Linked DNA regions of Homo sapiens: region 1 is linked to region 2. Evidence: promoter capture Hi-C in human tissues and cell types (Jung and others, 2019). All regions are on one chromosome and are shown on one strand. The core of a region is centred on a gene start or on the middle of the fragment in contact, and the rest is flanking DNA. Distances in the headings are between cores, read along the strand shown.

The links. Contacts are between HindIII fragments. The study calls those that stand out against the background at their distance.
Region 1: the fragment with the promoter of ZNF665 here is called in contact with a fragment that was not itself captured in region 2 in 1 of the 25 tissues and cell types used here (IMR-90 fibroblasts).

The regions. Positions count from the first base shown.
Region 1 is chr19:53,189,906-53,196,668 of GRCh38, forward strand. It overlaps ZNF665 (zinc finger protein 665), which reads right to left and starts at 3,453. Exons shown (of 4, transcript NM_024733.5): 1 at 3,407-3,453. RefSeq lists an enhancer at 3,269-3,418. The HindIII fragment of the contact is 23,654 bases long and covers 1-6,763 here.
Region 2 is chr19:52,533,337-52,539,886 of GRCh38, forward strand. All of the region lies in intron 2 of ZNF808 (zinc finger protein 808), which reads left to right. Among named protein-coding and RNA genes, the nearest start is that of ZNF808, 8.9 kb to the left of the region's middle. RefSeq lists enhancers at 2,695-2,924, 2,732-3,318, 3,055-3,184. The HindIII fragment of the contact is 7,454 bases long and covers 31-6,550 here.

The DNA of each region.
Region 1 (6,763 bases), core at 2,203-4,702, 660 kb after region 2:
GCCCTCCGGTGGCCCTGTCCGGGCATAACAGAAGGCTCGCACTCTTGTCTTCTGGTCACACCTCACTATGTCCCCTCAGCTCCTATCTCTGTATGGCCTGGTTTTTCCTAGGCTATGATTATAGAGCGAGGATTATTATAATATTGGAATAAAAAGTAATTGCTACAAACTAATGATTAATGATATTCATATATAATCATATCTAAGATCTATATCTGGTATAACTATTCTTGTTTTATATTTTATTATACTGGAACAGCTCGTGTTCTCTGTCTCTTGCCTTGGCACCTGGGTGGCATGCCGCCCACAGCCAGCAACAGCCCGGAGCAGGGACAGACCATTCCCAGTACCTCCTGAGTTGAGATTGCAGGCCTTAAGACAGGTGGGTGGGCCCGTTGGAGAGCTCTTCCCTTTACTGTTTGAGACAGGAAAAAATTAAACTGTTCATACTATTGTCACACTCAACCCAGAATACTTCACTTGTAGTCACCAAAATGTGTGCAGTTTTTCCCACAATGACCAGTTCTGCAGTGCACTCCCAGTGGTGGGTCCTACAATTTCACTCCACTCTGACACTGTCAGTTCTCCCAGGTGAAGATCTCAGTGTGCTACATGCTACTAGTAGCTGTTGGCTACACTCTCACCAGATAAATACCGTGATTCTCTTAACCCCTTCCTTGGATTCAATTAACTTGCTAAAACCATTCATCTGTATGCTTCGTAGTATCCTTTATAACAATTAGGTAGGCCGGGTGCGGTAGCTCATGCCTGTAATCCCGGCACTTTGGGAGGCCAAGGTGGGTGGATTACCTGAGATCAGGAGTTCAAGACCAGCCTGGCCAACATGGTGAACCCCCTTCTCTACTAAAAACACAAAAATTATCTGGGTGTGGTGGCGGACGCCTGTAATCCCAGCTACTTGGGAGGCTGAGGCAGGAGAATTGCTTGAGCCCAGGAAGCGGAGGTTGCAGTGAGCCAAGATCGTGCCATTGCACTCCAGCCTGGGTGACAGAGCAAGACTCCGTCTCAAAAACAGACCGGCAAACAAAAAACAATTGGGTAAACCAAGGAAAATGTTTCCCTGAGTTCTATGAGCTGCTCTGGCAAATTAATAGCACCTCAGGAAGGGATGAGGAGAATCCCAAATTTATACTCAATGGATCCGAAGCTCCGAATCTGGGACTTGGGGCTGGTATCTGAAGAGGGAACCCTCAACTAGTGGGATCTAATGCTAACTCTGGGTAGACAGTGTCCGAATTGAATTAAATTATTGGACAGTCAGGTAGTGTTTGTTCAAGAACTGCGTGTTGGTGAGGAGAAATCCCCACCCCACACGTTTTGGTGATGAGAGGCGATGCATTCTTTGTTGAGCGTTCATTACTTGATTATGAGAGTGGGAAAAACACTTTGGTTTTTCCTCCTCACTCATACACTTGCCTACACATTACCCCATCCTAGGAAAAGGAAAGAGGGTGACCCATAACTGAATGAGTCAAGTCACTGCTCTCTTAGAACAGAGATTGCAAATAGAAGCTAACCTCTGATGCCAGGAATTATAAAATGCACATGTCTTATAGACAAAACTTTTGTGATTCTCACCAGCATCTCCATAACAGAAACAAAATATATACATATAAAATTTGTTAGATTATTAGGGGCTGGGCACAGTGGCTCATGCCTGTAATCCCAGCATTTTGGGACGCTGAGGTGGGTAGATCACCTGAGGTCAGGAGTTCGAGACCAGCCTGGTCAACATAGTGAAACCCCGTCTCTACTAAAAATACAAAAGTTAGCCAGGTGTGGTGGTGCATGCCTGTAATCCCAGCTACTCGGGAGGCTGAGGCAAGAGAATCGCTTGAACCCAGGAGGCGGAGTTACAGTGAGTCGAGATCGTGCCATTGCACGCCAGTCTGGGAAATAGAGTGAGATTCTGTCTTAAGAAAAAAAAAATTTGTTAGATTATGGATACAGAAATCAATATATCACGATGTAATTATCCATATCCAATGAAACCACCATGCATCTGGGCCATAGTCCCCCTCTTTCTTCCTTCCTGTGTGTTTCCCTCCCTCATTCTGTACATCTCTCTCATTCTCTTCTTCTCTCTCCTTGTTTCTTTTCTGTGTTTCAGCCTGGGTCTCTGCTCCTCATTTTGAGCCCCTCTCTTCTCCTGCTGTTTCTCCTTCCCTCTATCCTTCTCTTCCACTTGTTCTGTTCCATTCTTGCAACTTGTTTCACCTCTTATTCCTCTTTCACCCGTCTTTTGGTTGTCCCCAATCTCCATCTATTTCTGCCTCTTTCTTCCCTTATCTCTGCTCTCCCTGTTAAATCCCCTCTTCCCTGTTTCACTTCCTTGTCCCCACTCTTTGGCACCCCCAGATCCCAGGTCTCCCCCTGCTGTGGTTCTCCCTCTGCTCTCCTTGTCACCAGCTGCCCCTTCTTGCTGTCCCAGCACCACGCTGCTCTGTCTATCCTGGCTCCAAATACCCCCTCCTCTCCCTAACTCTCCGTCTGAGGAGCTGCCCCTCTCCCTACCTTGCTGTCCTTCATCTCTCTAGACAGCGAGCTTTTCTCTACATTTCTCCAGTTGTTTCTCCATCCTGTTACTTTCTCAGCGACTTCTTTCACCCTTACTGTCTCTTTGTAAATCCTGACCCATCCTCTACTTTGCCATGTTTACTGGTTTCCCTCATTCTTTCCTCTGTCTCCGTTTTTCTACTTTTCTCTCAGCCCCCCTCTCTGTCTCCTGATCCCCTTGGCCCACACATTCACAGGGAGGGTTTGGAGTAAGACACCTGGATCCTGGAGGAGCACATTTTCCAGCGGGTGGAGCTGGGCAGGCAAGAACACCGGGTATCACAGGACAAGGCCCGGGCACCTCCCCAACGCGGGCTCAGGGGAAACGGTGACTGCGAAGGGGAGGCCTAGGGAGCAGCAGGGCCCGGCACGAGGAGGAGGGAGGTGGGGGGCGACGGCGCCTTAGGAGAGGGGTGGGGTATGCAGGATCCCAGGACCAGGCAGAGGCGCGGCCTCCCCGGGACTGGGGCTGCGGCGCTAACGCTCCAGTAGCTGACTAGGGCGAGGTTAGGGGACGGTAAAATCCTGCACCCACTTCGCAGATGAGGACTTCACAGGGCGCAGGTCAGTAAAGGGTTTTAAGCAGGAAACGGCGCAGGAAAGGAGGTGTCTGCATGGTCTGAAGGCCGAAAGACCGCGGGCAGGACCAGCCTGTGTGATTTTAACCCAAAGCGATGCGACCCCCAGAGTCTCGCGGCAAAGTCTGAATTTACATGGAATGGAGGGAGCCGTGCGGGGACTTTAAGGGCTATACGAACCCCCGGACATCGGGTACGGAGGAGCAGGGGACTCCGAAACGCAGGTTTAATCTAGATAGAGGGAAACTCACGCGGCGACTAACAGCCTTCACTCCAAGAGATCTGCTTCCGGGTTTGCAAGAAACTGCCCGCGCAGTAGGCAAAGGGGCGGGTTGCGGTGGGGAAAGGCCAGGCGTTGGGAGGGACTGAGAGCATAGGGTGGGCGGGGCCGGGGCGGGGCCTGAACCCTGGAGGCGGAGGTTGCAATGAGCCGATATCGCGCCATTGCACTCCAGCCTGGGTGACAGAGTGAGACTTCGTCTCTCCCAAAAAAAAAAAAAAACAAAACTTAGGCTATCTAAAAGTTTAACCAATGGCCAGTAATATAAGCAATCATGCATATGTAATGAAGGCGCCATAACAACCCAAAAGGAGAGGATTCAGCGGAGCTTCTGGATAGGTGAACACTGGGAGGCTCCTGCAGCGTGGTGCACCCAGGGAGGGCACCAAGGCTCAACGCCCCTTCTCCCATGCCTCACCTCACTGATCCCTTCCATCTGGCTGTTCTTCTGTCAACTTTGTAATATCCTTTATAATACGTAAATCTATGTAAAGTGTTTCCCTGTATTTTGTGAGCCACTCTAGCAAATTCGTTGAACCTGAGGAGGGGGTCAAGGGACTCCTGGATTTATATCTGATCTGTAAGCACAAGTCACAACCTCTGCTTGAGACTGGCATTGAAATGTGTGCACTATTGTGGGACTGAGCCCTCAACGTGTGGGATCTGATGCCATGTCCCGGCAAAATGGAACGGAATGAGAGAACACGCACCTGGTGTCTGTGGCAGGATTGCTTGCTTGGTGTGTGTGGGAAAACCCAGTACCTCTGGGCTAACTGTAGCATTCTGTGTTGTGAGAGAACAGTAGAAGAAACTGAATCAGTGTTTCCTATATTCTTAAATACGAATATGTGAGGTTTGTTGTTGTTTTTTTTTTTTTTTTTTTTTTTTTAGACAAGAGTCTTGCTCTTGTCGCCCAGGCTGGAATGCAATGGCATGATCTCGGCTCACTGAGCCACCGCCCCAGCGTGAAGGCATTTTTGAGCAAGTTATGTCTCCCTAATTCTGTTTTATTGTACTTTTCCCTAAGTAGTTATAATAGCCTCTAAATCTGTGTGGAGTTTTCAGTTTTGTGGACAATACAATAAATAGACAAATAAAAACCCAAACACAAGCTGATCTCTATAGAAGTGTTAGATATTATTTTCAACACACTAAGTGATACTCCGTATCTAGATAAGCTAAAGCACGAATGATGTCTTCTGAGGTGACAAGGTCCACAGTGGCTTTACAGAAACACTGGCCAGAAGTAAAAACTGTGATGATAATGGCAATAGCAATGACTGACTTTTCTGAACACTATGTGCAAGGCATTATTCGGAATACTTTACCTGTATTAACTCAAATAACAACATAATAGCCCATGAGAAAAAGATCTTTTCCTATCTTACTAGGAAACAACTGTGTCGGCCGGGCGCTGTGGCTCACGCCTGTAATCCCAGCACTTTGGGAGGCCGAGCTGGGCGGATCACGAGGTCAGGACCGGATCACGAGCCGGGCGGATCACGATGGTCACCAGGAGACCATCCTGGCTAACACGGTGAAACCCCGTCTCTAATGATAATACAAAAAAATTAGCCGGGCGTGGTGGCGGGCGCCTGTAGTCCCAGCTACTCTACTCGGGAGGCTGAGGCAGGAGAATGGCGTGAACCCGGGAGGCGGAGCTTGCAGTGAGCCGAGATGGCGCCCCTGCACTCCAGCCTGGGCGAGAGCAAGACTCCGTCTCAAAAAAAAGAAAAAGAAAGAAACTGTCACAGATACGCTAAGAAACTGGCCTAAGGTCCAAGAGCTAGAAATGACAGAGCAAGCCCCGAACCCAGGCATCTAAGAATTACAGTTAGGCTGAGAGCAGTGGCTCACACCTGTAATCCCAGCACTTTGAGAGCCTGAGGCAGGAGGGGTGCTTGAGCCCAGGAGTTCAAGACCAGCCTGGGCAATATAGTGAAACCCCATCTCAACAAAATAAAGACAAAACAAAAACAAAAAACCCCTCAACAATTACAATTAAACCTAAAGAATCAGTTAAGTAACAGAAGTACCATCAAAAGTGACAGGATGCCAGGTCAGGGAAACCATTGAGAACAAAGGCAAGCAACATAAACGAGAGTCTGCAGTAACGCAGGCAGACACTAGGTGGAGAACCAGACCACAGCTTACCATGAAAACACAGGGACTGCAGAATTGCAGACTGTCAACAGGAGCTCTCCTGAAGAAAAACTGGCAAACCTTCTCAGGTAACTACAAGCAAAAGCCCAGAGACGACACATTCCCAGAAAAGGCTTCAGAGGTTTCCAGAATCTCTAGTCAGGCTGAATAGAGAAGGTCCTCCCTGAAGGAAGCCAGAAATAAAAAAGTAGGACTGGTTGATTAGTGAAATGCTGAGGTGCCAAGATAACAAGACATTCAAGGAGAAAAGGAAACATGATCCACACAAAGGAACAAATGAAACCACCACAAACTGACACTAAAGAAATGAAGATGTGTGAATTATCAGACAAAGAATTGAAAATAAGAGTCACAAGATGGTCAATGAATTAAGAGGAGAGCACACATAGACAACCACAGGAAATCAGGAAAACAAGATATGAGCAAAATGAGACTATCAATAGAGAGACAGAAGCTATAAAGGAAAAACAGAGAAATTTTAGAGCTGAAAAATGTAATCAGAAACGCAGAACACAGAGCCTTGGTGCTCAATGCTGCACACAGATTACAACGCCCTGGGCCACCGTAGTTATTATTGAGGGTAGATCCCAACCTGACCATGGGAATAGGAATCTTGGGCAAAAGAAAGTTGAAATGGTTAAACTTATACGTTAATACGTTAAAATACGTTAAAAGGTATTTTTGCCAGCGAATGGGACAGAAGTTGAAATGGTTCACGTTGAAATGGTTATTACTGCCAGCAGGTAGGACAGAAGAGCTGCTAGTGAGACTGAAGCAACTCTGGGTGGGGATCTGGCATCTCTGGGGGTGTCGGTTTGGGGTAGATTGAATCCAGGAAAGTTTCTGCAATTTGAATTAATTTAAGCAACTTAACTAAAAAGCCCTGAAAATGTCTGTGAAGGGTATGCAAACTAGAATGTGAAATGCAAAACTCTGCCTGGGCAGAATGTGTAAGTAATTTCAAGTCACCTCTCAACAGAACTTAATGCAATCCCCTCCACATTCTACACCCATTCACCATGGAGGGAGAGAGTCAGCCCTGTGCACAGTTGCAGAGATTTTCATATGGTAAATACCTGGGGTGTGGAGCGAGGAGGGCTAATACCGGTGATATTAACTCTTGCTTTAGAAAAAGCAGTAACTTTTTAAAAATAGTTGAGCAACT
Region 2 (6,550 bases), core at 2,508-5,007:
CTGCTTCAACTTCCAGAGTAGCTGGGACTACAGGCACCCGCTATAATGCCTGGCTAATTTTTATAGTTTTGTAGAGACGGGGTTTCACCATGTTGGCCAGGCTGGTCTTGAACTTCTGATATCAGATGATTCTCCAGCCTTGGCCTTCCAAAGTACTGGGATTACAGGTGTGAGCCACTGCGCCCGGCCCAGGGATGTATTTCTGAAGAACTTGGGAGCTCCTTGAAAGGCAAACAACAGCCACGCGCAGTGGCTCACGCCTGTAATCCCAGCACTTTGGGAGGCCAAGGCGGGTCAATCCCGAGGTCAGGAGTTCGACACCGCCTGACAAACATGTTGAAACCCTGTCTCTACTAAAAATACGAAGAAATTAGCCGGGCATGGTGGCACATGCCTGTAGTCCCAGCTACTCAGGAAAATTGTTTGAACCTGAGAGGCAGAGGTTGCAGTGAGCCAAGATTGTGCCACTGCACTGTAGCCTGGGTGACAAAGTGAGACTCCGTCTCCAAAAAAAAAAAAAAAAAAAAAAAAGGCAAGCAACAAGATAGATTGTACCTGTGTCTCAGTAGGAAATTAAGTAATTCAAACATCAAATGATTCCAATTTAAAGCTATGGACATTTAAATAATTCTGAGCCTTGAGAGGAATGTGGTCATGCAACCAGAGTCTAGTGGAATGCAGGTGCAACTTCTAGGAGTTTTCCTGGCTGACTGTCATGGCTCAAGCCTGTAATCACAACACTTTGGGAGGCCGAGGCTTCCGGATCACTTGAGGTCAGGATTTCAAAACCAGCTTGGCTAGCGTGGTGAAACCCTGTCTCTACTAAAAATAGAGAGAAATTACAGGCGCCTGCCACCATGCCCAGCTAATTTTTGTATTAGGCTTAGTGTTAGGGTTTCTCCCCCTCCCTCGGGATGAAGCTTGTTAGCTGACAGAGATGGTCACCTCCATTACCAAGTAGAGCCAGGATGAACTATGTGTGACCAAGGGCTTTTCAAGTCCTCTTCCCTGAGGACTGATTACTGTTTATCTTGAAAACATGTCCTTAATGGGTTGTATAGAACACTGAAGTTTCTTTCTCTCTTTTCAACCTCTTAGCTGTTTGCCTCTATTTCCCATCACATTCTGGTCTAAAGCTTATTTATTAATGAAGTAGTTTTTCTTTCTTTCTCTATTATCGTCGTGGAGATGATTTCTCATTTGGGGGAAGACTCTTTGTTTTTCAATTATATTTTCTCACATTTAAAAAGTGAAGTAAAGAATATTTCCTGGGCCAGGCATGGTGACTCACGAGTGTAATCCCAGCACTTTGGGAGGCCGAGGCTGGCGGATCACTTGAAGTCAGGGTTCTAGACCAGCCTGGCCAACATGGTGAAACCCCGTCTCTACCAAAAATATGAAAGTTAGCTGGGCATGGTCGTGTGCGCTTGTAATACCAGCTACTCGAAAGGCTGAGGCAGAAGAATAGCTTCAACCCAGGAGGCAGAGGCTGCAGTGAGCCACGATCTCGCAACTGCACCCCAGCATGGGCCACAGAGAAATACTCTGTCTCAAAAATAAAAGGAAAGAAAAAAGTAAAAAAAGAGAAAGTAATAGATCTCTTTCACAAATGTGCTGGGACAACTAACTGGATATTTACATGGAAAAGAATAATATTGGATCTCTATGTCACACCATGAAAAATTTTATTTAAAAACGGGTTAAAAAAAAAAAGGCTGGGCGGGGTGGATCACATCTGTAATCCTAGCAGTTTGGGAGGCTGAGGTGGGCGGATCACAAGGTCAGGAGATCAAGACCATCCTGGCTAACATGGTGAAACCCCATCTCTACTAAAAATACAAAAAATTAGCCGAGCGTCGTGGTGGGCGCCTGTAGTCCCAGTTACTCCAAAGGCTGAGGCAGGAGAATTGCGTGAACCCGGGAGGCGGAGCTTGCAGTGAGCCAAAATCGTGCCACTGCACTCCAGCCTGGGTGACAGAGCGAGACTCCGTCTCAAAAAAAAAAAAAAAAAAAAAAAAAGAGAGAAAAGGAAAAGAGCGAGGGAGAGACGAGGGAGGGAGCCCTGCGGGAGGGGGTGTTACTTTGTCACCCAGGCTGGCCTGGACCCCCAGGTTCAGCGATTCTCCCGCCGCTGCTTCCTGAGTAGCTGGGACCTCAGGCTTCCGCCCCGTGCCCGCATCCCTGCTGTGTTTAGGCAGCAGGTGGTGACCTCACTCCTCCCTGGCCTGAGCACTCCGTCCCGCATCCCAGGCGGAGGCCCTAGGGAAGTCTCTGAAGCTGAGCACAGGGTGGACCCTCCCTCCTGAATGAATGGAGAATAGAAAGGGGGAGGATTTCTGTTATGTTCTGTGGGCCATCAGCATGAAATCGTATATTCCGCCCCGGCAGGGCTTTGCATTTCACATTTTAGTTTGCATGCCCGTTCCAGACAATTCCAGGGCTTTTGAATCATGCTTCAGCCTTCCTGGCCGCTCTCACCTCCAAACACCGAAAAAAACAGGCGCTGGGTGCGAGGCGGAGGGATGCACAGGTCCCGCCCCGGCCCCGCCCTCTGTCGGTTCTAAAGGGCAAGGTCTCTCTGCCTCGCGCCCCGCCTCTACCCCGCCCAGGCCCCGCCAAACTGTTCGCCGGCCCCGCCCAGGCCTGGCTTCAGTCCTGGGCGCGCAAACCCCGAGGCGGATCGCGTGGAGTGAAGGTCGTACCGCGGCGCGTGAGTTTTGCTCTGCCTTGTATTAAGTTTGCGCTTCCCAGGTCCCTGGCGCGTCTGTCCCTGGAAAGTGGGGTCCCCACGGACCTGGAAATTCTCGCCTGTCTTCCTTCATCCAGAGCAAATTGAGATGTCCCCGTAAGAGTCCGGAAGTTGCTTGCTTTTGGGTTTGAACTCGTCCGGAGGCTGGTCCCAACCCCGGTCTTTCTGCTATAGGGCAGTGTATACACTTCCTGTCGCTTAGTTTTCCTGGTCAAAACCCTGTGCTGACTCCACCCACCCCGTTCTTTTTAAAGTCCCCGACCCGCGAGGTGGATTCCCGCCCTGGGCGCCTCCCAGCCTCTCCGTCTTCGGCCCCTGGAGCGAAGCGCTGTGTCCCCAGTCCTGGGGAGGCTGCGTCTTCTGCCTGGTCCTGGAATTCTGCAGGTGCCACCCTTGTCTTAAGGCGCCGTCGCCCCCTACATCCCCCCTCGTGGTGGGCCCTGCTGCTCCCCAATTCTTCCCTTCGCAGTCACCGCTTCCCCTGAACCAGCGTAGGGCAGGTCCCAGCGGCTTGTCCTATGACACCGGGTATTCTTGCCTGCCCAGCTCCACCCTCCGGAAAATGCGCTTCTCCGCGATGCGGGTGTCTTACCCCAAACCCGCAGAGTGGTGCTGGTGGCAATGAGAACAGAGGGAGAAACACAGCAGGGAGGACACCGGGGGATCTGGGGTGCTAGAGAGTGGGGACAGGGGGGCGTAACAGGGAAGAGAGAATTTAACAGGGAGAGCAGAGGAGACGCAGAGATAAGAGGCGGTAATATGTAGAGATTGAGGACGATCAAAAGATTGGGGAGAAGGAGCAACAAGAGGTTAAATAAGGACCGGGCGCTTTGGCTCATGCCTGTAATCCCAGCAGTTTGGGAAGCTTAGGCGGGCGGATCACCTGAGATCCGGAGTTCGAGACCAGCCTGACCAACATGGAGAAACCCCATCCCTGCTAAAAATACAAAACTAGCTGGGCGCGGTTGCATATGCCTGTAATGTCAGCTATTAGGGAGGCTGAGGCCAGAGAATCGCTTGAACTTGGGAGGCGGAGGTTGCGGTGAGCCGAGATCGCACCATTGCACTCCAGCCTGGGCAACAAGAGTGAAACTCTTTCTCAAAAAAAAAGCGGTTAAATAAGTTGTGAGGATGGAGCAGAAGAGGTGGAAGAGGAGTAATAGAGGGAAGAAGGGGATAAATAGCAGGAGAGTAGAGGGGTACAAAATGAGGAGCACAATCCCAGGGAAAAAGAAAAGAAAACAAGAGCTAGAGAGAGAAGGGGAGAATGAGAGATATGTACAGAATTAGAGAGGGAAGCACAGTAATGAAGAAAGAGGGGCCAGGTGCAGTGGCTCATGCCTGTAATCCCAGCACTTTAGGAGACTGAGGCAGAGGGATTGCTTGAGTCCAGGAGTTCAAGACCAGCCTAGGCAAAATAGACACCCCATCTCTTTCAAAAAGAAAGAAAAAATTAACGGGGCATGATAGTGTGCAGCTGTAATTTCAGCTACTCTGTAGGCGGAGGCTGGAGGATCACTTGAGCCCAGGAGCTCCAGGCTGCTGTGAGCAGAGATCATGCCACTGTACTCCAGCCTGGTCAAAAGAGCAAGACCCTGTCTCAAAAAAAAAAAAAAAAGGGTGGGGGACTTTGGGTACAGATGAGTGTGTGAGTTCATTGGATATGATTAGTTGTGACATGTTGACTTCTGTCTATAAAATCTAATAACTTGTTTAAATTATACAGATGAGTTTGAGAATTTTAAATGTCCTATCTGTGAGCCATGTATGTTCTATAAATATTGGTATCAGAGGTTAGCTTCCACTTGGAATCCCTATTCAGACCGAGGGCAGTGACATTCAATTGTGGGTCACTCTTCCCTTTTCCCATGGTGGGGTAGGAAGTGGTGGGAAAAAAAAATCGCTGTTATTACATAATACTTTTAATTAATTAATTAATATTTTGAGATAGGGTCTGGCTCTGTCGCTCAGCTGGAGTACAATGGCGTTATCTACTCTAACTGCAGCCTCGACCTCTTAGGCTCAAGCGATCCTCCCTCAGTCTCCTGAGTAGCTGAGACCACTGGTGTGAGACACCAAGCCCAGCTAGTAGTTTTTTTTTTCTTTGTTTGTTTTTTTGTAGAAACAGGGTTTCAGTATGTTTCCCGGGGTGGTCTCAAAATCCTGGGCTCAAAGGTTCCCCCGTCTTGGCCTTGCAAAGTACTGGGATTACAGGGATGAGCCACCGCGCCCGGCCTACATACTAATTATTATTATTATTATTATTAGTTTTTTGAGGTGGAGTTTCACTCCTGTTGCCCAGGCTGGAGTGCAATGGCACAATCTTGGCTAATGACTCTCTGTGCCTTTAGAGTTGAAGCGATTCTCCTGCGATACTACCCCCTGAGTATCTGGGATTACAGGCATGCGCCACCATGCCCTGCTAATTTTGGATTAGGAGGCCGAGGCAGGAGAATCACTTGAACCCAGGAGGCAGAGGTTGTGGTGAGCTGAGATCGCACCATTGTACTTCAGCGTGGGCAATAAGAGCGAAACTCTGTCTCAAAAAAACCAAAAAAGAATGGAGCAAAACAGGAGAGGGGCATAAAATGAGCAGAAGCCCAGGGGGAAATGCAGAAAAGAAACAGATGGAGAGAGAAAGTGAGAAAGGGCTATGCATAGAATGATGGAGGGAAGCAGTAATGAAGACGAAGAGGGACCCTGGGTGCAGATGAGTGGTGAGTTGATTGGATGTGATGATGAAGTGATGACATGTTGTTTTCTCTGTTTATAAGGTAACAAATTTAAAATTAGTTTAAATTATACAGATGAGAATGAGAGTTGCCAAACTCCTGTGTCTAAGTGTGGTTCATTTTATAATGATGGCGTCAGAGGCAGCTTCCCTCTGCAACCCCTCTTCAGCCAGAGGACAGTGACTTGACTCATTCGTTGTGGATCACCCTCTTCCCTTTTCATGGCTGGGGTCGGGAGTGGGGGAGAGAAGTAGGGTAAGAAGTGACTGACTCTGTTACTATATGGAACGTGATGAAAGGAGTATTAAAAGTGCTTTTGTTCTCTTTTTGTAATTGGTTTCCTTTTTTCTAGTTCCTCTTCATTTCATTTTTTTTTTTTTTTTTTTTAATTTTTGAGATGGAGTCTCTCTGTGTCACGCAGGCTGGAGTGGAGTGGAGCAGTCTTGACTCACTGCAACCTCTGCCTCCTGGGTTCAAGGAATTCTCTGCCTCAGCCTCCCAAGCAGCTGGGATTATAGGCACCTGCAGCCACACCTGTCTGATTTTTGTATTTTTAGTAGAGACAGTTTTCACCATCTAGGCGGGACTTGTCTTGCACTCATGACCTTGTGATCCACCGCCTTGGCCTCCCAAAGTGCTATGATTACAGGCGTGAGCCACCACACTTGGCCTCAGTAATTGTTTTTTATTTTTTAATTTTAGTTTTAATTTACTTATTTTTGTTGTGGTGGTTTTTTTTTTTTTTTTTTTTTTTTTGACGGAGTTTTGGTCTTGTTGCCCAGGGTGAAGTGCAATGGTGCGATCTTGCTCACTGCAACCTTTGCCTCTGGGGTTCAAGTGATTCTCCTGCCTCAGCCTCCTGAGTAGTTATGATTACAGGCACACACCACCATGGCCGGCTAATTTTGTATTTTCAGTGGAGATGGGGTTTCTCCATCTTGGTCAGGCTGGTCTTGAACTCCTGACCTCAGGTGATCCTCCCACCTCAGCCTCCCAAGGTGCTGGGATTACAGGTATGAGCCGCTGCGCCCGGCCTTTGTTATTGTTTTGAGACACTTTTACTGTTTCC